Regions from separate parts of the Homo sapiens genome. Here all the other regions are linked to region 3. The links are contacts of gene promoters, found by promoter capture Hi-C in human tissues and cell types (Jung and others, 2019). All regions are on one chromosome and are shown on one strand. Each heading gives the region's core, a stretch centred on a gene start or on the middle of the fragment in contact. The rest is flanking DNA. Distances are from core to core; before and after follow the strand shown.

Region 1 (2,700 bases), core at 97-2,596, 500 kb after region 3:
AATGCATCACTCCCCCCCATAACCACATTGACCACGCAGTGTTTTCCAAACAAAAAAACCAGGCGCACAAACTCCACCCACAAATGTACACACACAAGATAAATAGTTTAGAACACCAGCAACAGCGAACAGCCGAGCGTCTCCTCGGCCGCGCGCCAGCGGCGCGGACCTCGGACCTCGGGGCTGCTCCTCGGCTGCAGCCGGCATCGGCGCGTCCCGGGCCTGCGGGCGGGTCCTGAAGGCGGCGGCGGAGCGCTCCGAGTCCGCCTTCGGCTCCCGCCGCCCGCCTTTCACCTTCGGGAGAAAACATTTTGCGCAGAGGATCCGGTATCTCGGGATTCCGAACTTGCTGGTTGCGAGACTCAAATTTCAAAAGGGGCTGGAGCCCGCGCCCCGCCCCCACCCGCGAGGCGGCGGGCAGGCGAGCGGGTGGGGGCCGTGGGAAGCTGCTCCGGCCCGGCCGGGCCCGGCTAGGCCGCAGGGAGGCGCTCGGCCGGCGGGGCTGCCGGACCCTGGGGCCGGGACGCACGCGCCGTATTCGCCGTGGCCACGGGCCTTCTGGCGGGGCCTGCGAGCCGGGCGCGCACCGAGGTAGTTGGCGGGAAGGTACAGCAGAGACGACGCGGGCGCAGGGCCGGGGTCCGGGGTCCCGGCGGGCATCACCGGCCGCTGGCCGCGTACTTCGCCTTGGTGATGAGATAGAGCACGATGTCCTGGTGGCCACCGAACGCGGCGATGTGCAGCGCGCTCCAGCCGTCGCGGTTGGCCAGGCGGATGTCGGCGCCGAACTTGACCAGCAGCTTCACGAGCTCCAGGTTGCCGTCGATGACCGACTGGTGCAGCGCCGTCTGGCCCTCGGGCCCGAACGAGTTCACGTTGAACTCGCAGTTGGTCATGTTCTGCAGCAGCGACTGCAGCTCCTGCGTGTTGCCCTTGCGCACAGCCTCCTGGAAGATGCGCTGCGTCTGCGGCGCGGAGCAGGTGGACAGCTCGGCCTGGCTCATGCTGCCGCCGGGCGCGGGCCGCGGGCCGGGCCGGGGCTCAGCGCGGGCGGCGGCTGCGGCGCGGGCCCCCGGCTGTCTCGGGGCGCGCCTCGGCGCATGGAGGGCGCGGCGTCCCCGGGCCCCGCACGCCGCCTCTGGGCGCTCCGGGCGCTCGGGGCCGGGGGTCGCCGCCGCGGGGACCCCGCCGCATCCAGCCGCGCCCGGGTGGGCGACGGGGGCGCGCGCTCGGCTCGCGGGGGCCGGGCCCGGCCGGGGACGGCGGCGCCGCGCGGTCCCGGTCCCTACTCGGTTCGGCTGCGGCTCCCACGCGGTCCCAAGGCGCCTCCCCACGCGCCGCAGCACTAGCTCGCCCGCCGCGCCGGGGCGCCTTTTACCTTCTTTATATTTGCATAACAATGGCAGCCCGTGACGCGCGCGCCGGCGGCCCCGGGATTGGGCCGCGCCCACATGGGGGCGGGGCGTGGGCGGTGCCGTGCGCAGGGGTCCGGGGGCGGGTCCCGGCGGCGGCGCGCTTCGCGGCAGGGGGCGCTGGTCGCCGGCAGCGCCTGGGCGGGGGAGGCCAGGTGGCCGCCGGGGGGGTCCAGCTCCGTCGCCGCCGCCGTCCGCGCGCCCCCCGGGCGCTCCGCGTCTCTTTGCGGTCGTCCCGCCCCTTCTCCCTCCGGCCACCCGGGGAATTCCAAGCTCCCTCAGCAGCCAGACCCAGGCCTTGCCCGGTACCCGAGCGCGACCGCCAGGTGGCCCCGAGGGCGGCCTCTCCCGGGCAGGGGGTTCGCGGGCATCTCAGGCCCGTGGCGAAGGAGAGACCCCTCTGAGCGGAGAGGCGCGCGGCGACCCCGGCCAGCCCGCGCCTCCGGGCTCACCGTCCACGCGGGTGGCAACTCCAGGCCCTGACGTGGGGCCTTCAGCCACGCGGGTCCTTCCCGCGCGCGGGCAGCCTCATGGCCGCCGGCTCAGCCTATGTGTGCCCCAACCGTACTGATGCGAGGGGCCTCCGGCCGGCCACCGCGGCTTCTATCGCCTGGCGGTGAAGGGGGTTCCGCTGTCCTCTCGGGAGGAAGCCCCGGGCCGGGGCGCAGCGGGAGGGTCGGGACCGCGGCCTGCCTCCCTCTGCTGCCCACGCACCAGCATGCGGGACACATAGGTCCTGCCCAGGTGAGCAGGGCTAGGTGTGGCGCCAGGGCCAGAAGGGAATTCTGAAACGCCTGGCTTCCAAACTGTAAAACCCATTTTTATTGACCACTCTAACAATTGACCGGGAGGCACTAGCAGGGGAAGCACAGCGCATTTCCTCATTAGAGTTTTACAGTTTACAACTCGCTGTGGTCGTTGGAAATTAAGGAGGAGTGATTCTCAGGCGCGGAGCAGGAGGCCAGGCAGGCTGGGGCTTGAATTCCTTCTGAAGCCAAGCCGGGAATTCCGCGCAGGCAGCTCTGAGCTCGGGCTGGGGAGACCCCCATGCCAGGCCTTGTCTGAGGAGGCTTCCGCCCACCAGCTCCATGTCCCCACATCCGGCTCCCCACAGGGGTGTGTCCCCACCCCATGCTGTGCCCATACTGGCAGGAAAAACTGGGCAGGCTCCCTTCGGGACAGACCCTGGCTGACCGGAGCAGGGTCCTGAGGCCCTGGGGTCCTCCTGGTGGGCTGGGAACCTCTGTCCCTCAAAGGCACAGCTCAGAGCTCGCTCTGGTCTTCCTGG
Region 2 (2,962 bases), core at 406-2,905, 390 kb before region 3:
AAAATGTGTCCCGTGGGCTCCTGACGGGCTCTGCTTAGAACATTTCCCCTTTCCATAGCCAAAATCTGCAAAGAAACAATGTCACCCACCATGCTGGCAGGAAGTCTTTATGACCTCACATTTGGTTTTTTTCTTTTGCACATGGAGTCTCCACTGCAGTGGTTCTCACAGTCTAGAGAACTTTTTTTTTTTTTTTGAGACGGAGTCTTGCTCTGTCGCCCAAGCTGGAGTGCAGTGGTGCGATCTCGGCTCCCTGCAAGCTCCGCCTCCTGGGTTCACGCCATTCTCCTGCCTCATCCTCCCGAGTAGCTGGGACTACAGGCACCTGCCACCACGCCCGGCTAATTTTTTTGTATTTTTTGTAGAGACGGGTTTTCACCCTGTTAGCCAGGATGGTCTCAATCTCCTGACCTCATGATCCGCCTGCCTCGGCCTCCCAAAGTGCTGGGATTACAGGCGTAAGCCACTGCGCCCGGTCAGCCGAGAAAACTTTAAAAAAAACACAAGCTCCCAGACTTGTGACCCTGGAGATGGCCTGACTTGCAGACTGGCCCTGGTGTCCGTGGTCTGAAAGCGGCTCCTCAGCAGATTTTGAAGCCCAGCCGGGGCAAGCGCGTCCTCTTGTCTTGTGACAACCCCCGAATGTCCTCAGATCCTGGCATAACCACACAAACACTCCTGCACACCCCGGGCACCCAGCAGCACTTCTGCTTGGGTAGAACGAGGACGAACCAGATCTGGCCACTGCCCGGCTGTGGAGGCAGATGGAATGCTCCAGCTCGGTTTCCAATCACTGCCCACTAGGTGAAGGCACCCCGACTCCAGCCCCACGAGGAAAGCGGGCGGGCTCCTGTGCTCCCCGGGCACTAACCATCCTGTACTGGAACTGTCTGTCTTGGGGGAGGTCTCCCCGCAACCAGACTGTGAGCTCCTAGCAGGGGACTCCGCCTTTGAATTCCGAGTGCCTGGCACGCAGTGAGCGCTCTGCACATTGATGGGTCAATGGACGAGCTCGTGCTGCAGCGGAGGTGCCACACGTGGCGCGGGAACTGGAAGCGTCCCCGGGGCCGGCGCCCTCGTCTCTCACCTGTGTCTCCCACGGAAGCCAGCACCGGGCTGGGCACATAGCACATAAAGGCCGGCCGAATGCCGAAGAAGGGGGAGTCCAGGTCCCTGCCATGGGGGCGCTCACAATTTAGCTGGGGGAGACAAGACCGGCGCTCATAGAACGCTGGAGCTGGAAGCAACGACAACAGCGACTTTACTGCGTGCCGGGGCGGCCGCCGCCCACCTGGACCGCTGGACTCGGCCCCTGCCCCGCTCACCGTCGGGAATGGCGAGGCTCCGGGCTCGGGACAGCGGGGTGGCGCCCGGGCGGCGCTGGTAGCCCGACATCGCCGCCGGCCCGGCGGGGCACGACCTGCCTAGCCCGGCAGCGGCGGCTCCATGGCCCCGGCTCCGCCCGTGCCGCGGCCCGCGTCGCCCGCCCCCGTCGCCCGCCCCCGTCGCCCGCCGCTCGGCCGCCCCCGCGCCTCCGAGCCTCTCGCCGCTGCTTCCGCTCCGAGCACCGAAAGCGCGTGCCTGAACGCCTTGGGCCGTCGGCGAGGGGGAGGGGAAGCCGTGGGCGGAAGCGGAAGTGACGACTGAAGCGGGGCGGAGACGCAAGATGGCGGCTGTGGTGCTGGCGGCGACGCGGTTGCTGCGGGGCTCGGGTTCTTGGGGCTGTTCGCGGCTGAGGTGAGCCAAAGGCGAACCAGGCTTCGGCCTGGGGCGGGGGCGGCTCGAGTCTTTCTGGACGCTCCGTCTTCGGTTTCTACAGGTGACATGGCGCCCGTGGGACGGGCTCGCACTTCGGGACACTGGTGTCCCCGAGGCGACGGGGGCCCTGCCTTGCTTTGCGCCTCGAGCCCGGGGACGCAGTCCCATCTGTCTCTCCTCTCCCCGGCTGCTGGGTCCTCTCCCCCCCTCACTTCCCGGGTCGACGGGCCTTCTCCGAGGCCATGCCTCATATTTGCCCCCGCGCTTCACCTACCGCGTGCTCCTTCAGGAGGCTGAGCCGGTGGGGGCCCAGCTCTGTTAGACCCGCAGGGTTCTGACACCAGGGTCCAGGCTCTCGGTTGCTGCGGTCTGTCCGTTGATCTCTGACGTTTAAGAACCCTTTCCGTACCCACCGCTCCTCCCACCCAAGTGACCGGGCCTGCCTTTCCCCACGCTGGAACTTTGTTCCGACAGCACAGGCGTCGCCCCTCCCCACACAACGAGCGCCGTTTCAGGGGTGCGGAGGTGCTGCCTCCAGGAGATGGATACAGGCTGGAGCGTAAACAAAATATCGGCAGTCGCGTAAATGCTTTGGAGTAAACAAGCAGCCTTTCATGATAGAAAATAGCAGGAAAGACTAGACTGGTGAGGGATAGTCCTCCATCAGGGTGACATTTAAGGGAAGAGCTGAAGAATGAAAGAAGGGGTAGGCATGGGCAAAGGGCAAGCCCTGGAACGGTGAAGAAGCTTTGGGGTTGATGAGTCAAATGTGTTCCAGGAATTGACAAGAATCAGTGTGACCAGGACCTATGGGAGTGTGGGGGTTCAAGAGATGAGTTTGGAGAGGGAGACAGAGGCCAAGTCACACCCCGCCTTCGGACCAGGTTAATAAGGGATATGGCTTTTATCCAAGACTTCGGTGGTGCTGTTGGAGGGCAGAGCTGTTAAGTGCTTTATGTGTACAAACTGCACTTAGAGTGAGTTACTGTTAATAAGCCCTGTTTTTACAGAGATAGCAACTAAGACCCAAAGGACGGAACCAGCTTGCTCCAGGTCCCGTGGCTGAGCCTTTGTTGTCAGCCTCTGCTTTGTCTTCCAAAGTCTGTAGAAATAAGTCCTGTAGAAAGGCAGATGCTCACTTTTAACCCAGACAAAACATAACTAACCGCACCTAACAGGTCATCACAGGTTTGTTGTCTCAAGC
Region 3 (3,019 bases), core at 146-2,645:
TGTACCTGGTTCTGGGCTAAATAATTCCTTTTACACTCAATTCATCCTGATGGCAACCTTCTGAACGAGCCATCATCTTACAAATGGGGACACAGAGAGATTAAGTAACTTTCCCAATGTCACACAGCTAAACTAGCTGGTCAGAAGCTGCCTTGGCCTTGAATCCTGACTCTCTGACCCCAAGCCCATGTCTTGAGCCCCTCTGTTTCACTTCAAAGCAGAACTGTCCCCAAACCTCCCCGGGTTTCAGTCAGCCTTTTCTGCAGAGCATTTCATCACAAACTCTCTCAGTCTCTCTGGGTTGTTGGACCCTAGGTGGTGAAAGAGTCCACCAGGCCAGCACTGTCCACTCCCTGTGAAACACCTTTCATCACCGTTGTGCCCAGCGGGGAGTGGGGGAGGTGGCTGGGGCCACAGAGGAGAACCTATCACTGTTCTCAGGGCTCTTAGTCGGGGGATAAAAGCTCGGGGCAACTGCAGCCCACTCTGTAGGGGCCACAAGAGAACCCCATTCAACACAGGTGCTGGCAGGATACCCCATTGAGCTGGACAAGCTGCAGAACCTCGTGGTCAACTACTGCTCAGAGCTGTCGGATATGAAGATCATGTCCCAAGATGCCATGATGATCACGGATGAGGTCAAGGTGAGCTCAGGGCCCAGGGCTGGGGGCCCCCCAGGGCCAGCCCTCTTGGATCTTCGGATGGGGTCAAGGTGAGCTCAGGGCCCAGGGCTGGGGGCCCCCCAGGGCCAGCCCTCTTGGATCTTCGGATGGGGTCAAGGTGAGCTCAGGGCCCAGGGCCGGGGGCCCCCCAGGGCCAGCCCTCTTGGATCTTCGGATGGGGTCAAGGTGAGCTCAGGGCCCAGGGCTGGGGGCCCCCCAGGGCCAGCCCTCTTGGATCTTCGGATGGGGTCAAGGTGAGCTCAGGGCCCAGGGCCGGGGGCCCCCCAGGGCCAGCCCTCTTGGATCTTCGGATGGGGTCAAGGTGAGCTCAGGGCCCAGGGCTGGGGCCCCCCAGGGCCAGCCCTCTTGGATCTTCGGATGGGGTCAAGGTGAGCTCAGGGCCCAGGGCTGGGGGCCCCCCAGGGCCAGCCCTCTTGGATCTTCGGATGGGGTCAAGGTGAGCTCAGGGCCCAGGGCTGGGGCCCCCCAGGGCGGGCTCTCTTGTGTCTTCTGGCCAGGGTCTCTCAGGAGACCCCCATGCCCACACTGCCTACAATCCCCAGAAGGATCCAGTGGCCAGCCCGGCCAGCCTGCTCTGCTCACCCACTGGACAGAGCAGGTCCCATCCAGCACAGGAGCCATGAAGTAGAGGAGAGGGAGAGAACTGGCCGGGCCAGGGCGGGGGTCACCTATTCACCCAGTCTGTGCCAAGGTCCCTGCAAGGCTCTGGGGATACAGCAGGGACCGGGACAGGCAGACCCTGTCCTCCTGAAGTGGGTGGCACTCATCCAGTAGTCCATGAAGAAATGCCACACAGCCCCTGAGCCAGCTCAGCAGAGACAGGTGGGGTGGCAGATGGCTTTCCAGGAAGACAGTGCTTGAGCTGGGCTGAGGGATTGAACCCGCAAAGGTCAGGTGTGGCCAGGGCTAGGGAGGAGGAGGTACAACTTGGGAAAAGGCCCTGGGCTGGGAGGGGTGTGATACATGGAGCAGCGTGTGGCCAGGGCAGTGGAGGCTGCAGAGGCACAGGCCCCAGGAGTCCACGGAGGCGGCTGGGCTGGGGGCCCAAGGACTGACCTGGAGCCCTGGGAGGAGGTGGAGGAAAGATGTGACCAGGTCTGTGCTTCAGAAAGGGTGTACTCAGGCTGCAGGGACTGGAAGGTGCCAGGGCAGAAGCGCTGATCACCTGGGTATACCCGGGGTGGAGAAGGGGTGGCCAGGAGCAACGGAGCTGAGAACTCCTCAAGAGGCAACCCCACTAAGCGCTGGCAACGAGAGTGGCGAGGGTGAGAGCAGTGTCTGGGGTGCGTGAGCAGGGGTTAGCAGATGACGGTTTTAGCTGCCCAAGGGCACGCTGGAAGAGGCCAGGTTTTGGGGAAGAGGATGAATCTGTCTTCAGGCAGGCTGAATGCACTTCCGTGAGTTCTAGGTGGACCTGGCCAGGAGGCAGCTGGGGGCCAGCGGCTGGAGGGCAGCAGAGCGTCTGGGCTGGCACATGCTCTGAGGCATGGGCAAGGAGGGCCGTGAGCTGAGGGGCCACGGGCACAAGTGGTTTAGGAAAAGGGTGTGGCCATTGGCCGGGGATGCAGTTCCAAAGTCTAGTAAGGTGAGCATGGCCAACCGCCCGCTGGCTTTACTGCCATTAGGGGCCTTGTTGAGACAGCTCCCCAACCCTGTGCCCACCCGCATGTCCCCAGAGGAACATGAGGCAAAGGGAGGCGTCCTTCATCGAGGAGCGCCGGGCAAGGGAGAACCGGCTCAACCAGCAGAAGAAGCTGATCGACAAGATCCACACGAAGGAGACCAGCGAGAAGTACCGCCGGGTAAGCCCCAGGCCAGGGCCTGGCTGGCTGCCCATCCCCATGACAGCTGGGTGGACACAGGCTCAGGGCCACCACTCAGGGCCCACTCCCTGCCAAGGATGTCTCATCCCTTCCCCGCCCCCACCTCCCATCAGGGCCAGATGGACTTGGACTTCCCCTCGAACCTGATGAGCACGGAGACCCTGAAATGTAAGCGCTCAGCTCCCCACCTGCCCCCAGCCAGGGTCCCAAGGAGAGGCTGGCACTGATTCAGGCCAACGGATCAAGTCACCCTGAGGCCAGGTGTGACATGTGGTCGCCAGGGTGAAGGGAAGGACAGGTCCCTGCCTCTCCCTCCAGAGGCTGAGAGCCTGTAGCCAAATGTGGCCTCAGAGATGCTGGCCCCAGCACCCAAGGGCCCTGCACCAAGGGCCCAGTCCCCAGTGACTCTGCAGAGGATGAGCATCCTGACCCCTAAGCTGCCTCTGAGAAGCACCACCGGGCCCACAGTGCTCACAGTGCTGCGCCACTCACTCCGGGTCCACCTCTGCTCTG
Region 4 (2,991 bases), core at 401-2,900, 360 kb before region 3:
AACCCAGGAGGCAGAGGTTGCAGTGAGCCGGGATCGCGCCGCTGCACTCCAGCCTGGGCGACAGAGAGAGTAACAAACAAAAACAACCAAAGGGGCGGATCGTATACATTGACGACATTTCCCAAGACTAAACAAGAAAAAGCGCCAGATACGTAATTGTATGCAGGATGCCATCCTGTCTACCTTAACACAACGTCACGCCCACGAATGGTTCTGAAACGCACAGGAAAAGTTCTGGGAAGGGCGCTGCTGTGGGGTGGGGCTGGGAGATGGGGTGGCTGCGGGAGACCCGCTTCGTTCTTTCCGGTTAGGCATCTTAAACGCTGCTGATGGGAACGGTCTCACGAGGTTCCAGCAGCCTGAACACTACAACGAAGGCGGCGCGGGCGCTGCACCCGCCAGGCCCTCCCTACCTGCTGCGGACGTCCTTGCTGCGGATGGGCGCCAGGAGGCTGAAGGAGGATTTGGCCGAGCGAAGGGAACAGTCGTCGCAGGCCAGGGGGCTCCGCGGCCGGCCGGGGCCCAGGCTGCTGTGGGCCCGCACCAGGAGCGGCTGCGCGCGGAGCTTGTAGTCTGCAAGATCCGAGTCGACCTTGTTTGCTGTCCTCAGGGAGTCGGAGGCGATGTCCAGGCTCAGGGCAGGCGGTGGGCGCGGGGGCAGCAGGCTGGGCAGCCTGGGCGAGCTCCCCGCCACGGCGGCGTCTCTGTGCGGGAGGTTCGGGGAGCTGCTGGCCACCCCAGAGAGAGGGTTACCCCCCGAGGACGGGCTCCCTCTCTCACTGCTCAGGACCCCGCGGGACTTGGGGATTTCCTGCAAGGAGGTGCTCAGGCAGGGCGGGGAGCAGCTGTGGGCGGGGGCCCCGGGGCCCTCGCTCTGCACTGAGCCCCTGGAGGGACTGGTCCCATTCCGGGCTTCCAGGTCCTCCTGGCTGCCTCGAAAACGCCTCCTCCTCCAGCCCTTGTCGTCCAGGGACAGGGCTCGCTCCAGTCGAGGCCTGGCGGGGGGCCGCGGGGCGATGGGTGCTGCTCGGGCTGGCGGGTCCTCGCCGCTGGGCGTGGCCGGAGTGCTGCAGGCAAGCGCGGGGCTCTCGGAGCCCGGAGCATCGGGTGGGGACCCCGCGCGCTGGGCCGGCGGAGCGCCGGGAAGCTGTCCTTGGAGCGTCCTCCCTTCCGGCGGCTGCGGGGCCGGCTCGGAGGGCCGCAGATTCTCCGCCTTGGACGGCATGGACGGTCTCTCCCGGGGCAGGCCTCGGCGCGAGGCCGCAGGCAGCGCGAGGGGTCACGGGTGCCGGGTCCGGGGTCGCCGGCGCAGCGAGGAGCAGAAACGCCGCTGCGGCTCCCGCTTGGGCCGGGGATGGTCGCGGAGGGGCGGGGGCGGCTGCCGCATGGCCCGGGCCCCGAGTCCCGCCAGCCCCTCGGGGCTCCCAGACGCCGTTCCCAGGGCGGTCCGCAGGCAAGGCCTGGGGGAACAGGCGGCTGGGCGCCTGTCGCGGGGGAGGTTCGACCCCGACGGGGACGCCGCTCGGGGAGAGGGGTGGGAAGCGGGCACCCCTGGCTGGGCTCGCAGACTCCGAAGTCGACCCGGTACTCGCGGAGGCCCGGCCGCCCAGAAGCGGAGTCAGCCCGGCCGGGACCCAGCAACCGCCGCCGCGGGGCCGCGCCCGGTCCCCGCCCCGCGCCCCGGCCCCGCCCACAGCGGCCCCTGGCGGCCGGAGGACTGCGCCGCACCGGACCCGGACGGGTCTCCCACGCCCCTCCCAACCCGGCAGCCCCGCAGTCCGGCAGGTCCCAGCGAGGCAGGTGCAGGTCCCCGGAGAGGACCTGGGTGCGGTCCAGGACAGCGCCGAGGCCTGCGGACACCTGCACTCACTCGCTTCCAGCAAACCAAAGGGAACCACAGGTGAAGGTGCTTGAAGGAGCGCAAAATATTTTATTCAACAATTTGCAATGTAACAATTCTCATTTAGGAAAAATAGCCGCTCCCGCCTGGAGGAAGCTTCTTGAATCAAAAGTCGTGGCAGTCGACCCCAGAACAGCGGGCAGAGCCGACCGGAAGAGGTCCCAGGATTCACACGAGCTGACCGAGGGACAGAGAGGGCTGCCCCGTCACAGGGACTGGCCTTTCTCCAAGTGACAAGGACAAATGGATCCAGCGGGACACGCCTGTGGAACATTTTGGAAAACATCCTGGGTGGTCTGGGCTAAATGATCAAGTGAAACAGAAAGCCAGGAAGGATCTGTGCTAATTCCACATTCTACAATTTCTACACTTAAATTTAAAACACCAAACAGTTTGTATTCCTCCAGCAGAACCTACAGAAATTATCTACTGATTTTTATTAGTATTTAAATCTTTTCTTCAGTCTCTTTAGACTTGACAAGAATACGAAGAGTTTCAGAACAGTCAGAGAAGCCTTAAAGCTTTGCATCAGTGAGAGGAGGCCCGTCTCTGAGTTGAACAGGGTTGAGTCCACCAGGAGCTACTCAAAGTCTCAGTGTGGCAAAACTCGGGGCAGAAATACTAAGTTCCAGAGCTGCTGTCAAGAAACTGTGTTAAGATACTCTCCCCAAGTGCTACCAACCTCTGAACCAACGTCCCCCAGGGGAGAAAGTGGGTCATGTGGATTGTACCACGAAAAGTGCTCACGGAAAGTGCAGCCTTTTAGAGAAGTGCATCCAGCTTCCTTAACAGTGAGTCTAACCGTGCTCCTACACACGAAATGAAGCCCAAATCAAACATCACACGGTCAGTTTTCAACCTGGATGACCACCCTGAGCCATCATGTCAGACAGCCGGCTCTCTGGGGCTCCTTCCCAGTGACTGGGCCACACGGTGGGCAGTCCCCAGCGCTTTGGGTACACAAAATCACCCATGGTCCTCATCAGGCCACAGAAAGTAAAGTGAGGCTGGAAGCGTCTTTGCAACAGGAAAGAAATTCACTGCAGTAACTAAGGCCTCTCTCAAAAACCGTGAACTAATGCCGAAGGAAC

The links. Contacts are between HindIII fragments. The study calls those that stand out against the background at their distance.
Region 1: a contact is called between the fragment with the promoter of NRARP here and a fragment that was not itself captured in region 3, in 2 of the 25 tissues and cell types used here (lymphoblastoid cells and spleen).
Region 2: a contact is called between the fragment with the promoter of PMPCA here and a fragment that was not itself captured in region 3, in 3 of the 25 tissues and cell types used here (hippocampus, lymphoblastoid cells and spleen).
Region 4: a contact is called between the fragment with the promoter of INPP5E here and a fragment that was not itself captured in region 3, in 2 of the 25 tissues and cell types used here (hippocampus and spleen).

What each region holds. Positions count from the first base shown.
Region 1 is chr9:137,300,925-137,303,624 of GRCh38, forward strand. It overlaps NRARP (NOTCH regulated ankyrin repeat protein), which reads right to left and starts at 1,347. Exons shown (of 1, transcript NM_001004354.3): 1 at 1-1,347. The coding sequence starts at 1,004. The coding sequence ends at 660. RefSeq lists silencers at 205-254, 375-434, 505-584, 1,267-1,906 and an enhancer at 646-1,564. The HindIII fragment of the contact is 30,312 bases long and covers 1-2,700 here.
Region 2 is chr9:136,409,003-136,411,964 of GRCh38, forward strand. It overlaps PMPCA (peptidase, mitochondrial processing subunit alpha), which reads left to right and starts at 1,656. Exons shown (of 13, transcript NM_015160.3): 1 at 1,656-1,737. The coding sequence starts at 1,667. It overlaps ENTR1 (endosome associated trafficking regulator 1), which reads right to left and starts at 1,612. Exons shown (of 10, transcript NM_001039707.2): 1 at 1,326-1,612; 2 at 1,088-1,237; 3 at 1-65. The coding sequence starts at 1,395. RefSeq lists enhancers at 715-874, 1,725-1,814, 1,845-1,894 and silencers at 1,235-1,284, 1,425-1,514. The HindIII fragment of the contact is 13,229 bases long and covers 1-2,962 here.
Region 3 is chr9:136,802,143-136,805,161 of GRCh38, forward strand. It overlaps CCDC183 (coiled-coil domain containing 183), which reads left to right. Exons shown (of 14, transcript NM_001039374.5): 6 at 522-644; 7 at 2,360-2,485; 8 at 2,620-2,674. CCDC183-AS1 (CCDC183 antisense RNA 1) reads right to left here. Exons shown (of 5, transcript NR_024580.1): 5 at 1,785-3,019. Among named protein-coding and RNA genes, the nearest start is that of RABL6, 4.3 kb to the right of the region's middle. The HindIII fragment of the contact is 7,702 bases long and covers 1-3,019 here.
Region 4 is chr9:136,438,195-136,441,185 of GRCh38, forward strand. INPP5E (inositol polyphosphate-5-phosphatase E) reads right to left here and starts at 1,651. Exons shown (of 10, transcript NM_019892.6): 1 at 414-1,651. The coding sequence starts at 1,225. SEC16A (SEC16 homolog A, endoplasmic reticulum export factor) reads right to left here. Exons shown (of 32, transcript NM_014866.2): 32 at 1,911-2,991. RefSeq lists enhancers at 1-488, 430-539, 489-1,123, 1,124-1,757 and silencers at 830-1,319, 1,380-1,559, 1,610-1,809. The HindIII fragment of the contact is 9,976 bases long and covers 1-2,208 here.